Regions from separate parts of the Homo sapiens genome. Here all the other regions are linked to region 3. Evidence: promoter capture Hi-C in 16 types of primary human blood cells and fetal thymus (Javierre and others, 2016). All regions are on one chromosome and are shown on one strand. Each heading gives the region's core, a stretch centred on a gene start or on the middle of the fragment in contact. The rest is flanking DNA. Distances are from core to core; before and after follow the strand shown. Region 1 overlaps DEFB123 (defensin beta 123). Region 2 has its middle 6.4 kb from the start of DEFB115. Region 3 holds the start of DEFB118 (defensin beta 118). Region 4 has its middle 8.2 kb from the start of DEFB116. Region 5 has its middle 14 kb from the start of DEFB115.

Region 1 (2,700 bases), core at 163-2,662, 80 kb after region 3:
CCGGCGCGGTGGCTCACACCTGTAATCCCAGCACTTTGGGAGGCCGAGGCGGGTGGATCACCTGAGGTCAGGAGTTTGAGACCAGCCTGACCAACATGGAGAAACCCCGTCTCTACTAAAAATACAGAATTAGCCAGGCGTGGTGGCGCATGCCTGTAATTCCAGCTACTCGGGAGGCTGAGACAGGAGAATCGCTTGAACCCGGGCGGTGGAGGTTGCGGTGAGCTGAGATTGCGCCATTGCACTCCAGCCTGGGCAACAGAGCAAGACTCCATCTCAAAAAAATAATAATAATAAAAATAAAAATAAATAAATGTTTAATTGAGAACAAAAGTTGTTTACATTTACCCATAGTTATCAGTTCTGATTCTCTTTACTCCTTTATGTAGACATCCAGATTTCCCTCTGGTACCATTTTCTTCTGCCTGAATAACTTCCTTTAGCATTTCTTGTAGTGAAAGCTTTCAGTGATCAATGTTCTCCGTTTTCAAATACATGAAAAAGTCTATTTCTCCACTTTTAGAATATTTTTCCTCTGTAAAGAATTCTGGGCTTTTTTCCTTTTATTACTTTAAAGATCTCTCTCTACCATCTTCTAGTGTGCAGTTTCTGACAATAAGTCTTCTGTGTTGGTTTTTTTTTTTCCTTTCTTTGAGACGGTTTCACTCTGTCACTTAGGGTAGAGTGCAGTGGCGTGACCACAGCTCACTGCAGCCTCGACCTCCCAGGCTCAAGTGATCCTCCCACCTCAGCCTCCCTAGTAGCTGGGACTACAGGTGCACACCAACACACCCGGCTTTTTTTTTTTTTTTTTTTTTTTTGAGACGGAGTCCCGCTCTGTCGCCCAGGCTGGAGTGCAGTGGCGCTATCTCGGCTCACTGCAAGCTCTGCCTCCCGGGTTCACGCCATTGTCCTGCCTCAGCCTACCAAGTAGCTGGGATTACAGGCGCCTGCCACCATGCCCAGCTAATTTTTTGTGTTTTTAGTAGAGACGGGGTTTCACTGTGTTAGCCAGGATGGTCTCGATCTCCTGACCTCATGATCCGCCCACCTTGGCCTCCCAAAGTGCTGGGATTACAGGCGTGAGCCACCACGTCTGGCCTAATTTTTTTATTTTTTTGGAGAGACAGGGTCTCACCTAGGCTGGTCTCAAACTCTTGGGCTCAAGCAATCCTCCCATCTCAGCCTCCCAAAGTGCTGGGATTTCAAGTGTGAGCCACCACACCCAGCCTCTTCCAGTATTTTTACCTTTTCTCCTATGTACATAACGTGTCTTTTCTTCTGGCTTTTTAAAGATTTTTTTCCTTTCACTTGATTTTGCAATTTGATTATTATGTGCCTTTGCATGCTTCTCTTTTGGTTTTATTCAGCTTGTAGTTCACCGAGGGTCATGGTTCTATGGGCTTAGAGTTTTCATCAAACTTGAAATTTTTCAGCCATTATTACTTCAAATACTTTTCCTGCCCCTCCCCTCTCCTCTCCTTTTAGTATTCCAATTATATGCATGTTAGACTACTTGTTATTGTCCCATGGGTCACTGACACTCTGCTCTTTTTTCCCCCCATCTTTTTCTCTCCATGTTTCACTTTGGATGATTTCTGTTGCTATGTCTTCAAGTTCATTTATCTTTTCTTCTTCAGTCTAACCTACTATTAATCTCACTTAGTATGTTTTTCATTTAATATTTAATGTTTCATCTCAACTATTCCATGTGAATATATACATATATATATTTTTTTTTCTTTGAGACAGAGTTTCGCTCTTGTTGCCTAGGCTGAAGTGCGATGGCACGATCTCAGCTCACTGCAACCTCCACCTCCCAGGTTCAAGCGATTCTCCTGCCTCAGTCTCCTGAGTAGCTGGGATTACAGGCATGTGCCACCACGCCCAGCTAATTTTTTTTTTTTTTTTTTTTTGTATTTTTAGTAGAGATGGGGTTTCTCCACGTTGGTCAGGCTGGTCTCGAACTCCTGACCTCAGGTGATCCACCCACCTTGGCCTCCCAAAGTGCTGGGATCATAGGCTTGACCCATCGTGCCCGGCCATGAATATTTTTTACATCTTTATTTCTTCTCATCATGCTCATGGCTTCCTCCACCTTTTTTACTACTTGGAGCATATTTATCATAGCTGTTTTATCATCCTTGTCTGCTAGTTTCATCATCATTGTCATTTCTGTGTTGGTTGATTTGTTTTTCTCCTGGTTATGGGTCATATTTTCCTGCTTTTTTTTTTTGTATGCCTGAAAAATATTTTTACACTTTCAGTTTCTGTATTTTGTTACACTCCTTTAAAGAGTTAGATATTTTTCTTGCATGCAGCTAAGTTAGTGGGAATCAGATGAATATTTTCAAGACTGACGTTTAAGCTTTGTTAGGATGGGTACAGGGTATTCTTTAGTCTAGGGTTAATTTAGCCCCCACTACTAAGGCAATAGCCTTCCGAGTACTAAATGCTGCAGATTTTACAGGGTCTTTCCACTCAGGCAGGTGGAAACACAAGCTATTCCCAGACCTGTGCAATCACTGGGAATTGTTCTGCTTACTTCTTTTTGGTGTTTGGTATTTTTCTCCCCCTCAGGCCTTTGGTAGTTTCCTCTTGCACATGCACAGAAAGGCACTTAAAGACTACAGGGTGGGCCAGGCATAGTGGCACATGTCTGTTGTCCTAGCTCCTCGGGGAAACTCAGGTGGGAGAGTC
Region 2 (2,700 bases), core at 35-2,534, 120 kb before region 3:
CTTATGGCTATTTGCATAAGTTCAATAAGACTTAGTTCTCTTTATAACAGGATACAACTGAAAACACAAATTGTATTTCCAAGGCTTTGACTGGAATGTCATATTTACAAATGTGCATAGACTTCTTGGCTTCAAGGTTTCCCAACCTTATAATGAATGAGTAAAAGTTTTCACTTCTGGGTAGACCCAGGAACCTCAAGATATTAGATACAGCAGGTAAAATTCAATGACTGCCTTGGTTTGGCTTCCTAGCATTGAGAGGTTTTTAAAAATCTAATCTGAGATTCCTTGTAAAAATTTCCAGCAAAACAACTTTAAAAGAAGCCTATGTAGTTATTCTTGCTTCATTATGTTAATAATCAGGCCAAGTTTGAGAATAAACTTACTTTGCAAACAAATTTTTGTGAATAACTAGGAAGTAAGTTATTTGAGCTATTTGTAATATACCAACATTTTATGACTATATATTTCACAATTTTTAGACATTGTGAAAAAAATTGTTCTTGAAAAAACAAGTTTTTTGCTCCTCAAAGAAGTTTTTTTAATTTACTAACAGAGATTCAAATATATTTAGTTTGTCTACATCATATAGAAACAAAATGCCAAAGTATACAAACTTAAAGCTTATACTTAATAATTAATGTTTTAGTATTTTAACTTATTTAGCAATTACCAAGACATTTAACTGGTATATATTATGTAATTCTGCTTTAAGATTTCAAATTACCAAAAACATTTTTTGAAACTATGAGGAGTTTATTTGTGAACACTTATGCCTAATTTACTTGTTTTTGACAATCATGTTTGAACTGTTTATAAAACTTCTGTAAGGCATTGAACAAAACTCTCCATCATCTCAAGTTATTTCTCTGCTAACAATTTCTACAGCATGCAAATGATAGGCAAGAACTCTAAAGTTAAATACATGAGTATTTTTGCTGATCAGAAGACATGGCTGCTTTTCAAATACGTTGACTCTTGAACGGCATGGGTTTGAACTGCACAGTTCCACTTATATGTGGATTTTTTTTTTGCCTCTGCCACCCTGCCACAGGAAGACTAACCCCTCCTTTTTCTCCTCCTCAGCCTAGTCAATGTGAAGACAATGAGGATGAAGACCTTTATGATGATCCATTTCCATTTAATGAATGGTAAATATATATTTTCTCTTCCTTATAATTTTCTTAATAACATTTTATTTTGTCTAGCTTACTTCATTGTAAGAATACTGTATATAATACATTTAAGATACAAAATATATGTTAATTGACTGTTTATGTTATTTACAAGGCTTCCAGTCAATAGTAGGCTGTCAATTTAAATAACAGAGAGTGGCTCTCTAAAAATACATATATATATTTATTTGGGAATAAAACATTACAGTGGAAATACACATGCCGCAGTAAACTATGTGCATATTCAGGGAAGTCAAGGATGACAAAGGCTTTTAAAGGAAAAAATGAGGAGGATGACATAATTATTTTGAAATAATTATCCTTGATTACAAAGATCAATAATAAGGGTGATGCCAGTCTGAAGTCCGACAGGTAGTTGCTAGGCAGATGTCCTTTTAGAAGTATTTTTTTGCATAAGGTTGCAGTGGCCTTTGTTTAAGGTTGTGGCTTTTGCAGTCTTTTGTGATGATTTTTGTTATCAGGCACACAAATATGAGAACCCTCTCTTCATGACCTTCCCTGGCTCTATTTGTCCGGATTTTCTTAACCCATTTTGATTTTGACAACTTTCACAAGGCTATTAGTAGTTAAGTTTTTGGGAAACTGTCGCAGATGAGTGACAACTATCTGGGCCAGTGGCACAGGGTTAAAATAATTTACTATGACAGATGTAGGTAAAGAAAGGCAGATTTATTAGAGAAAGTATGAAAATATGTTGCAAAGAAGCAATGAACAGAATCAGCACGAGAGGAGCTGACTGAAAGGAAACAAAAGCTTGCTGGAGATTTTAAAGAATGGTTCTTGGGCTGCAGAGTGCTGCGAGCAGTACTCATAACCCCAAAGTTGCAGTGAGCTAACTTGCAAGTGTCTGGTGATAGCTGGGCTCAGGAAGATTATGAGTTATTTGCACAGGAGGGCTATGTGTCCTGGACCATGAATGTCATCAACATATTAATGACATTCTTTACAGAAATAGAAAAAACAATCCTTGTTTCTATTGAACTGCAAAAGACTTTTAATAACCAAAGCAATCTAGAGCAAAAACAGCAAATCTAAAGGTATCACACTACCTTACTTTAAAATATACTATAAAGATCTAGTGACCAAAATAGGTTGATATTGGCATAAAATCAGACACATAGACCAATGGAACAGAATAGAAAGACCAGAAACAAATCTGCACATCTATAGCCAACTGACTTTAAAAAAAATTTCCAAGGACACACATTGGGAATAGGACAGTCTCTTCGATAAATGGTACTAGGGAACTGGATAGCCACATGAACAAAAATGAAACTAGATCCTTATCTTTCACCATATTCAAAAATCAACTAAAAATGATTGAAAGACTTGAATGTAAGACTTGAAACTAAGGAATTAGTAGGAGAAAACATTGGAGAAATACTTCATGACATTAGACTGAGGCAAAGATTTTTTGTTACTTTTTTTATTTTTCAAAAGTACTATTTTCACAAGAGGATGGGTGTCAAGGAAAGATTTTTTGGCTATGACTCTACAAGCATAG
Region 3 (2,700 bases), core at 179-2,678:
GACCACTTGAACCCAGGAGTTTGAGACTAGCCTGGGCAACATAGTAAGACCTGTCTCTCCCAAAAAAATTTTTTTAAATATTCGGGCATGGTGGTGAATACCTGGGCAGTCCCAGCTACTCAGGAGGCTGAGGTGGGAGGATTGCTTGAGCTCAGGAGCTTGAGGCTGCAATGAGCTGTGATCGCACCACTGCACCCTAGCCTGGGCTACAGAGCGAGATCCTGTCTCAAAAAAATAAAAACATAAAACAAAATTAATTTGAAAATAGCCCACCACCATGCTACGCTTTCCACATGGTTCCATCCAGAAGAGAAGTCTCCTCAATCACATGGCAACCCTGCTAATTCCCATCAATTATTCTCACAGTGAAAGTTATCAATTCCAGAAGAGAAAAATCAGCAACCTCCTCTGTAAAAGCTTTACAGAGACTTTTAGAGCCGAGTAAACAAGAGGGAGCAAAAGTTGAAACACGATGAAAATGCAACTAAAGCAATGCAGGACCTAGGCTGACTCTGGGGGTGACATCGAGGTTCCACATCCCAAAGGCAAGTCTAAATGTTGGGGTCTTCATGGACAGCTCCCAGACCTCTGATGACCCTCATGGTGCCGTTGTCAAAGGTAACATCCCAAATTATTGTAGATCTGTCTTCAGCAGGGATTTTTTTTTTTTTTTTTGAGACAGAGTCTCACTCTGTTGCCCAGGCTGGAGTGCAGTGGTGCGATCTCAGCTCACTGCAACTTCCACCTCCTGGGTTTAAGCGATTCTCCTGACTCAGCCTCCTGAGTAGCTTGGATTACAGGCACCCACCACCACACCCAGCTAGGGAATTTTTTTTTTAATGACATTGGGTAGCATCCCCCTTTGAGTCTTATAAATGATCTCCCTCAAACTTCTGCAGCAAGTGACTTCTTGGGCAAGTCATTTTCCCTGTTGGGCACATATGTAAGAGAGGGATTTGGCTTATAGATTGACATGTGTTCATTATCGTTTATTTCCACAAACCTTCACTGAGAGCATGCTTCGTGCCTTGGGGGCTCAAAAATGAAAGACACGTTCCCTACTCTCAGGAATTTCACAGGCTGGTGCGGGGAGACACACAGATAAGTAGACCATTCAAAAGTAGGTTTATGCTAGAGTGAGAGGGGCTGTGAAGAAGGGCTGAGCCCTAATGAGAGATCGGGGAAAGCTAGGGAAGATGTCCCAGTGTGAATCTTCCCTCTCCATTGCTCCAAACACCTCCTCAAAACCTGTGACTTGTAACCCTCTGCATGCCCTCCCAGTGCCTGGATCAAATGCTCAGCTTATGTGCCACACACTAGACTGATGTTATGCATGGATAAGCTCTTAGATATCCGGCTGGTTCTGTGCCCATCCCTCTGCCCCCACTGCAGAGAGGCCAATAAAACTCTTGTTCAGACTCACACTGCACACAGTATTCTGAACTCCTGGATCTACCACCTCCTGCTTCCCAAGGACCATGAAACTCCTGCTGCTGGCTCTTCCTATGCTTGTGCTCCTACCCCAAGTGATCCCAGGTAATCAGAGGTCAGGGAAGATACAAAAATAGAGGTATAGTGGGTTCTGGCTCATGAAAATTCCAATGTGTCACGGTACTCCCCAACATGGGCAGCTCCACAGTTCCCACACTGGGACTATGCTCCTGGCTGGGGTAAAACCTGGGAGTAGAGCAAGTTATCCTCAATAGACAGGGGCAGTCCCACCATCCAGAGTTGTCCTTGGTTCTATATTCCAAGTTGCCGCCTAAGAAACTAGGGGAAAGCTCGGCTCACATCTGTTCTCTTTCCAGATTGTGCCAGCTTTTGAAAATGATTCCTGCAGCCCACTTTGCTATGTTTTCTTGGCCCTAAAAGTCCTGCTATAGCTATAATGAGGTTCTTTTTGTTTTCTAATATTCTAGAATTTGGTGAACAAGTCAGAAAACACTGGTAGAGCTGTTACACGGAAGACAGAACTGGCTTTTCTTCTTCCTTCTACAGTGAAAATCTAAGCTTTTCATAATCACTGCTTTCTTAAGTATATCTAAAGGCATGACCAGAACTTTGAAATCACTGGTGAAGAGAGCCTGTTTCTCCTTTATGTTTTTCAAGGTGCATTTCAATGTATGATCGAACTTACATAAAAATGAATCTAAATATTTCTGTTTTATAACGAAGTAAGCACACTCCCTGCATGGCTATGCAGCACTCTTGTGTTTTTTTTTTTTTTTTTTTTTGAAGATGGAATCTCAATCTGTCACCCAGGCTGGAGTGCAGTGGCGCAATCTCAGCTCACTGCAACCTCTGCCTCCTGGGTTCAAGCAATTCTCCTGCCTCAGCCTCCCAAGCAGCTGGGATTACAGGCATGCACCATCATGTCCGACTAATTTTTGTATTTTTAGTAGAGATGGGGTTTCACCATGTTGGCAAGGCTGGTCTCAAACTCTTGACCTCGGGTGATCCATCCGCCTCGGTCTCCCAAAGTGCTGGGATTACAGGCATGAGCCACCGCACCCGGCCCTATGCAGCACTCTTCTTTCACTTATTATTTTGTGGCCATCTTTCCATGTCACCATCTAAAGATCTGCCTTATTGTTTGTAAAGTTGTATAGTTCTGCTGTAGGATAAGCCATATAAAGTCATATATAGCCATTTGAGACATTTCTTAATTTTCGAACAAGACATCAATGAATATGCTTGTAC
Region 4 (2,700 bases), core at 141-2,640, 68 kb before region 3:
TCTAATAATCCAATCAAAGATGGACAAGAGAGTTGAATAGACATCCCTCAAAAGAAGATATATAAAAGACAAACAGGCATGTGAAAAGGTGCTCAACATCATTGATCATCAGAGAAATACAAATCAAAACTACAACGAGATATCATGTCACCCCAGTTAAAATGGCTTTTATCTAAAAGACAGGCAATAATGAATGCTGACAAAGGTGTAGAGAAAAAGGAGCCCTCATACACTGTTGGTGGGAATTTAAGTTAGTATGACCACTGTGGAGAACAGTTTGGAGGCTCCTCAAAACACTAAAAATAGAGGTATTATAGGATCCAGCAATCCCACTGCTGGGTACATCCCCAAAAGAAAGGAAATCAGTACATTGAAGAGGTATCTGCACTACCATGTTTGTTGCAGCACTGTTCACAACAGCTAAGATTTGAAAGCAACCTAAGTATCCATCAACAGATGAATGGATAAGGAAAATATGGTACATATACTCAAAGGAATACTATTCAGTCATTAAAAAGAATAAGATGCTGTCATTTGCAACAATGTGGATGGAACTGGAATTCATTATGTTAAGTGAAATAAGCCAGCACAGAAAGACAAATATCACATGTTCTCACTGATTTGTGGTATCTAAAACTCAAAACAATTGAATTTCTGGACATAGAGAGTAAAATGATGGTTACCAGAGGCTGGGAAGGGCAGTGGGGATGTAGGGGTAAGTGGGAATGGTTAATGGGTACAAAAAAAAAAAGAATTAATAAAACCTACTATTTGATAGCACAACAGAGTAACTATAGTTAATAATAACCTAACTGTACGTTTTAAAACAACTAAAAGAATGTAATTGGATTGTAAATGCCTGAGGGGATGGATACCCCAATCTCCATGATATGATAATTACACATTGCATGCCTGTATCAAAACATCTCATGTATCCCATAAATATATACACCTACTATGTACCCACAAAAATTTATTTTAAAAACAGTATAAATAATAAACAACTTTTAAAAATAAATAAAATAAAATACAATCATAAAGACTTTAACAATGTAAAGAAGAGTAAAATCAGTGAGGACTGCTGTAATCCAGGAATCTGGAAGAGCAACAGCACAGAAGAATAAAAGGAAAGATGGAAATAAAAATAAAATAAGTAATTAAATTAAATTAAAATACAATAAATGTATCTACCCCCTTGGCCTTGGTAATTTAAAACATACTCTGAGGAGACAGTTCTCTATTTTTATCTATTATGTTTGTACAGCAGGAAAATTAATTTCCATAAAACAGAGTAAACCTGGTGAAAGGTCTTTAGTGTATTTAATCTAAATGGAATAGTTTCTCTTTATCATTTTTTTCTAGGGCATATTCTTCCAAACACAAGAAATTTTAGTGCAAATGATTTGAGGGCTTAATCTTATATGGAGGCAATTTAATAGAGTTTCAGGAATCTCTGTAGAAAATCTAGAGGCACATAGAAACTCTGGTATTTGGTTGCTTTTTAAGTTTGAAAATAAATACAACTGTTTTTCTAATTTTTTTTTGTCTTTTTGCCAGTGGGTTTTTTACATGAATCTGAAAGGGCTTCTGAGGGTTATTTATTTATTTATTTTTGCCTTTGAGTTTCATTGATGATGCTTTTTAGTCTCTTATAGGTCTTTCTGTGAATGAGAAGTTAGAATTTTGATTTCTTTTGTAAGCCTCTTCTTTCCACAAATACTATGACTGCTTTCTGGCCAAAATGGGAAATTTCCAGATTTTTCTCTTAGATATTTTGGGACATCCTGTCCTCAGGACAAAGCAGGAAAAAAGCCCACTAGTTGGGGGGGTAATTTCTGGTCACCAATTCCAAATTATATCGAGTAATACCACAGTAGTTTAATATAAGCTAAACAGAAATGGAATTTCTTCTTGGTCATTCAACTGAGGACCCCACTCTGTGGGGTCTAACCTAAAAGAGTAATCTGATTTTTCTCAGGTACACATGGTAAGGGTTAACAGACAAGCAAAAAATATGGTCAGACTCATCCGATAGTCTCTACTGGAAAATACAAAGCATTTCTGAGCTCAAGTTGGGAGCAATGGTATCTTTGGGCAGCAGATATGGAGAAAAATCTGAAAGTACAGTCATGTGTGAATTCAGCCCACATCCTATATTCCACCTCCATTCTTCCTAGGATCTTACAAACAATGCCAAATTGTTCCACAAGAATGACCAGACTCAAAAGTTTTAAATAAGTGTTTGCCATTTATAAGAACTGCTTTTCAGAAAGAAAAGTTGTGGGTGCTAATTACTGAGGATAGGAAGATGACAGAAAAGCTGGGTAAACAGATTTGGAGTTAATTTTTGGGACATCTTGAGCCTGAAATGGCTGAGTAATCCAAGAGATTAGAACAAATATGTAATTCGATATGTAAGTCACAGAACAAGAGAAAAATCCTGCTGACTTCATATTCGTGTTTCTTTCTCAATACACGTGGAGGCAGGGAAATAGCAATCTATACCTTAAACCTGAAATTCACAACAATTTTTCTTCTCCAAATACTTCCAAAGTAGAAAGTCTGGAAACATTATATCTCAACTATGCTACTGAATCCAAGGCCAATACTTTCTTCCAAATTTTAAATTTTTTTTCTTTTTTTTTCTTTTTTTTGAGACAGAGTCTCACTCCATCACCCAGGCTGGAGTACAGTGGCACC
Region 5 (2,700 bases), core at 102-2,601, 97 kb before region 3:
CCAGTGCCACCAGCACTACAAGCAAGCCACAAGACAGGTTCAGTGTCAAGAGGGATTCATGCAGCCACAATTTCCCTAGCGGGAGAAAAAGAGATACAGAAGACCTTAGCAGCCAACACCATCAAAGACCTCAGCAATCCTCACTGCCACTGCTGGCATCCACAGTATTGGTCACTAAGGATTCCTGCAATTTTAATCAACACCAGCATCAGTTGACAGAGCTGCACAGACATTATACCACTGTACCTTCAGTGATGCCAGAACAGTTACCCTTCACTCAGAAAGCACCCTTGCACTCCCCTCCCTCCATAGAGGCAGGTCTTTCCACACCAGAATTAACCTGTAAAGTCTGAAAAAGGTGATTGCTCCATCAAATATGATGATATTAACATAAGAAACATTTAAAAACCAAGGACACATAATAACAAAGAATATGATAATTTCCTAGTACCTGGTCCCCTAAAGAAATGGAAATATACAAACTGTGTGACAAAGAAATCAAAATAATTGTTTTAAAGAAGCTAAGCAGGCTGGGTGCGGTAGCTCATGCCTGTAATCCCAGCACTTTGGGAGGCCGAGGTGGGTGGATCACCTGAGGTCAGGAGTTCAAGACCAGCCTGGCCAACATGGTGAAGCCCTGTCTCTACTAAAAATACAAAACTCAGCTGGGTGTGGTGGCAGACACCTGTAGTCCCAGCTACTTGGCAGGCTGAGGCAGGAGAATTTCTTGAACCTGGAAGGTGGAGTTTGCAGTGAGCTGAGATCGTACCACTGTACTCCAGCTTGGGTGATAAAGTGAGACTGTCTCAAAAAAAAAATAAAAATAATAAGTAAATAAATAAAGCAGCTCAGCAGACTCCAAGAAAATACAGAGAAGCAATTCAGTAAAATCAGGAAAACAATAAATGACAAAATGAGAAATTTAATAGAAATTGAAATTGTTTTAAATTATAGAGCTGAAATACACAATGAATAAATAAAAAATACAATAAAAAGCATCAACAGCAAAATTGATCAAACAGAAGAAAGAATCTGTAAAATTGAAAACATACAGTCAAATGAGAAAAATAAACAAAAAGAATGAAAAAACATTACAGGATTTATGAGACAGCACCAAAAGAACAAATATTCAAATTATAAGTTTCTGAAGAAGAAGAGAGAGCCAAAGGAGTAGAAAGCTTATTTAAAGAAATAAGAGTAAAAAACTTCCCAAATCTGGAAAAAGATATAAATATACAGATACAAGAAGGTTAAAGGTTTTGAATCAGATTAAACTCAAAAAGACTACATGAAGACATACACTCAACAGTCAAAAATCAAAGACAAAGGGAGCATCTTGAAAGCAGCGAGAGAAAATATGCAAATAACTTGTAATGGAGTTCCAATAAGGCTAGCAACAGATTTCTCAGTAAAAACCTTACAGACCAGGAGAATGCAATGATATATCCAAAGTGTTGAAGAAAAAAAACTGCCAACCAAGAATACTTTATGCAGGAAATCTGCACTCCACAAATGAAGGAAAGATAAAGCTTTCCTAGACACAGAAAAGCTGAGGGAGTTTATCAGCACAAGGCTTGCCTTACAAGAAAGACTAAAGGGAATTATTTCTAATGAAATAAAAGGATGCTACTTAGTAAGACTATAATGTTTGAAAGTACAAAACCCACTGGTAAATATAGATCATGATGGCTGACTAGAAGCATCCAGAACTTACCACTTTTACAGAGAAGGACTAAACAGTATTAGGTTGGTGCAAAAGTAAATGTGGTTTGGGGCGTTAAAGGTAATGATAGAAAACTTCAATTACCTATGAACCAACATAATAGATAACCACATATCAAATAAAGTGTCTAGAAGAGAATGCTGGAATCCAGCAGAGAAGCAACAGGGACTCTGAGGCACAAAAGCTCAAGATGGCAGCATAGAGAAGGAATCAAGGCAGCCAGCTGAATCAGCTCAGAGCCAGGAGGAACTCCGCATTGTTGGGAAAAAGGTAACTGAAAGATACGTATCAGTCCACACTCCCACCAGAAATGCCTGAAGTTCTAACTGCAGAAAAGCTCCTAGACCCTCACATGTCCTGAGCCTAGTCTGGAAAGCTGCCTGGAATCCACGTGACTGCATTTGTTCCAGGGAGAGAATTTGCACAGGGGCCCATCCCTGGAATGCAGGCTGCTATAGTATGGTGCCATTTTGAGAGCAAATACAACAACAGACTATATCCCGCCATGGAGACCAATAGCTCCTGCATCTCCACAACCCTGAGACCTCACCAATATCCACCCACACCCACTCAAAGGGCTGCAGCATCATAGTGCTGGCTAAGCCCAGTGGCACAACCACACTGCCAGCATCTGAGACCACACAACATCCCACACCCCAGGGAACAGATGGTCCAACACAACCGGTATACTGGCTCAAGGACATAGAGAACCAAAGTGTGAGCTCCCCAGAGCCTGAGAGCAACCTTCCTGGACCTGCTGCCACCAACAGCAACCTCACTCCTCTCCAGCAGTGGGGCCATGAAACACCATAAATACCACCCAAGGGCCCAGAGACTTACCTGCCCAACCCACTACAGAAACCACCAGCTCCCAACTACTCCACTCAGGAAATGAAACCAGTCCACTCACCCAACTAGAGATATTGCCAGCACTTGGGTGCCCACCTGGGGGCCCAAGGAGGAACTGCCCAGCCAGC

What was found. The method cuts DNA at HindIII sites, captures the fragments that hold promoters and counts their contacts. A CHiCAGO score of 5 or more calls a contact.
Region 1: a contact is called between a fragment that was not itself captured here and the fragment with the promoter of DEFB118 in region 3, in 2 of 17 cell types (erythroblasts and endothelial precursors). The highest score is 10.1, in erythroblasts.
Region 2: a contact is called between a fragment that was not itself captured here and the fragment with the promoter of DEFB118 in region 3, in 3 of 17 cell types (endothelial precursors, erythroblasts and M1 macrophages). The highest score is 5.5, in endothelial precursors.
Region 4: a contact is called between a fragment that was not itself captured here and the fragment with the promoter of DEFB118 in region 3, in 3 of 17 cell types (naive B cells, naive CD8 T cells and total B cells). The highest score is 5.7, in naive B cells.
Region 5: a fragment that was not itself captured here is called in contact with the fragment with the promoter of DEFB118 in region 3 in 4 of 17 cell types (M1 macrophages, total B cells, total CD8 T cells and 1 more); the score reaches 6.0 in M1 macrophages.

The regions. Positions count from the first base shown.
Region 1 is chr20:31,446,984-31,449,683 of GRCh38, forward strand. The region is part of intron 1 of DEFB123 (defensin beta 123); the gene reads left to right. Among named protein-coding and RNA genes, the nearest start is that of DEFB123, 7.7 kb to the left of the region's middle. The HindIII fragment of the contact is 1,907 bases long and covers 460-2,366 here.
Region 2 is chr20:31,249,869-31,252,568 of GRCh38, forward strand. No RefSeq gene overlaps it. Among named protein-coding and RNA genes, the nearest start is that of DEFB115, 6.4 kb to the right of the region's middle. The HindIII fragment of the contact is 1,326 bases long and covers 622-1,947 here.
Region 3 is chr20:31,367,173-31,369,872 of GRCh38, forward strand. It overlaps DEFB118 (defensin beta 118), which reads left to right and starts at 1,429. Exons shown (of 2, transcript NM_054112.3): 1 at 1,429-1,536. The coding sequence starts at 1,479. The HindIII fragment of the contact is 1,593 bases long and covers 416-2,008 here.
Region 4 is chr20:31,298,994-31,301,693 of GRCh38, forward strand. No RefSeq gene overlaps it. Among named protein-coding and RNA genes, the nearest start is that of DEFB116, 8.2 kb to the right of the region's middle. The HindIII fragment of the contact is 3,064 bases long and covers 1-2,700 here.
Region 5 is chr20:31,269,963-31,272,662 of GRCh38, forward strand. No RefSeq gene overlaps it. Among named protein-coding and RNA genes, the nearest start is that of DEFB115, 14 kb to the left of the region's middle. The HindIII fragment of the contact is 351 bases long and covers 1,177-1,527 here.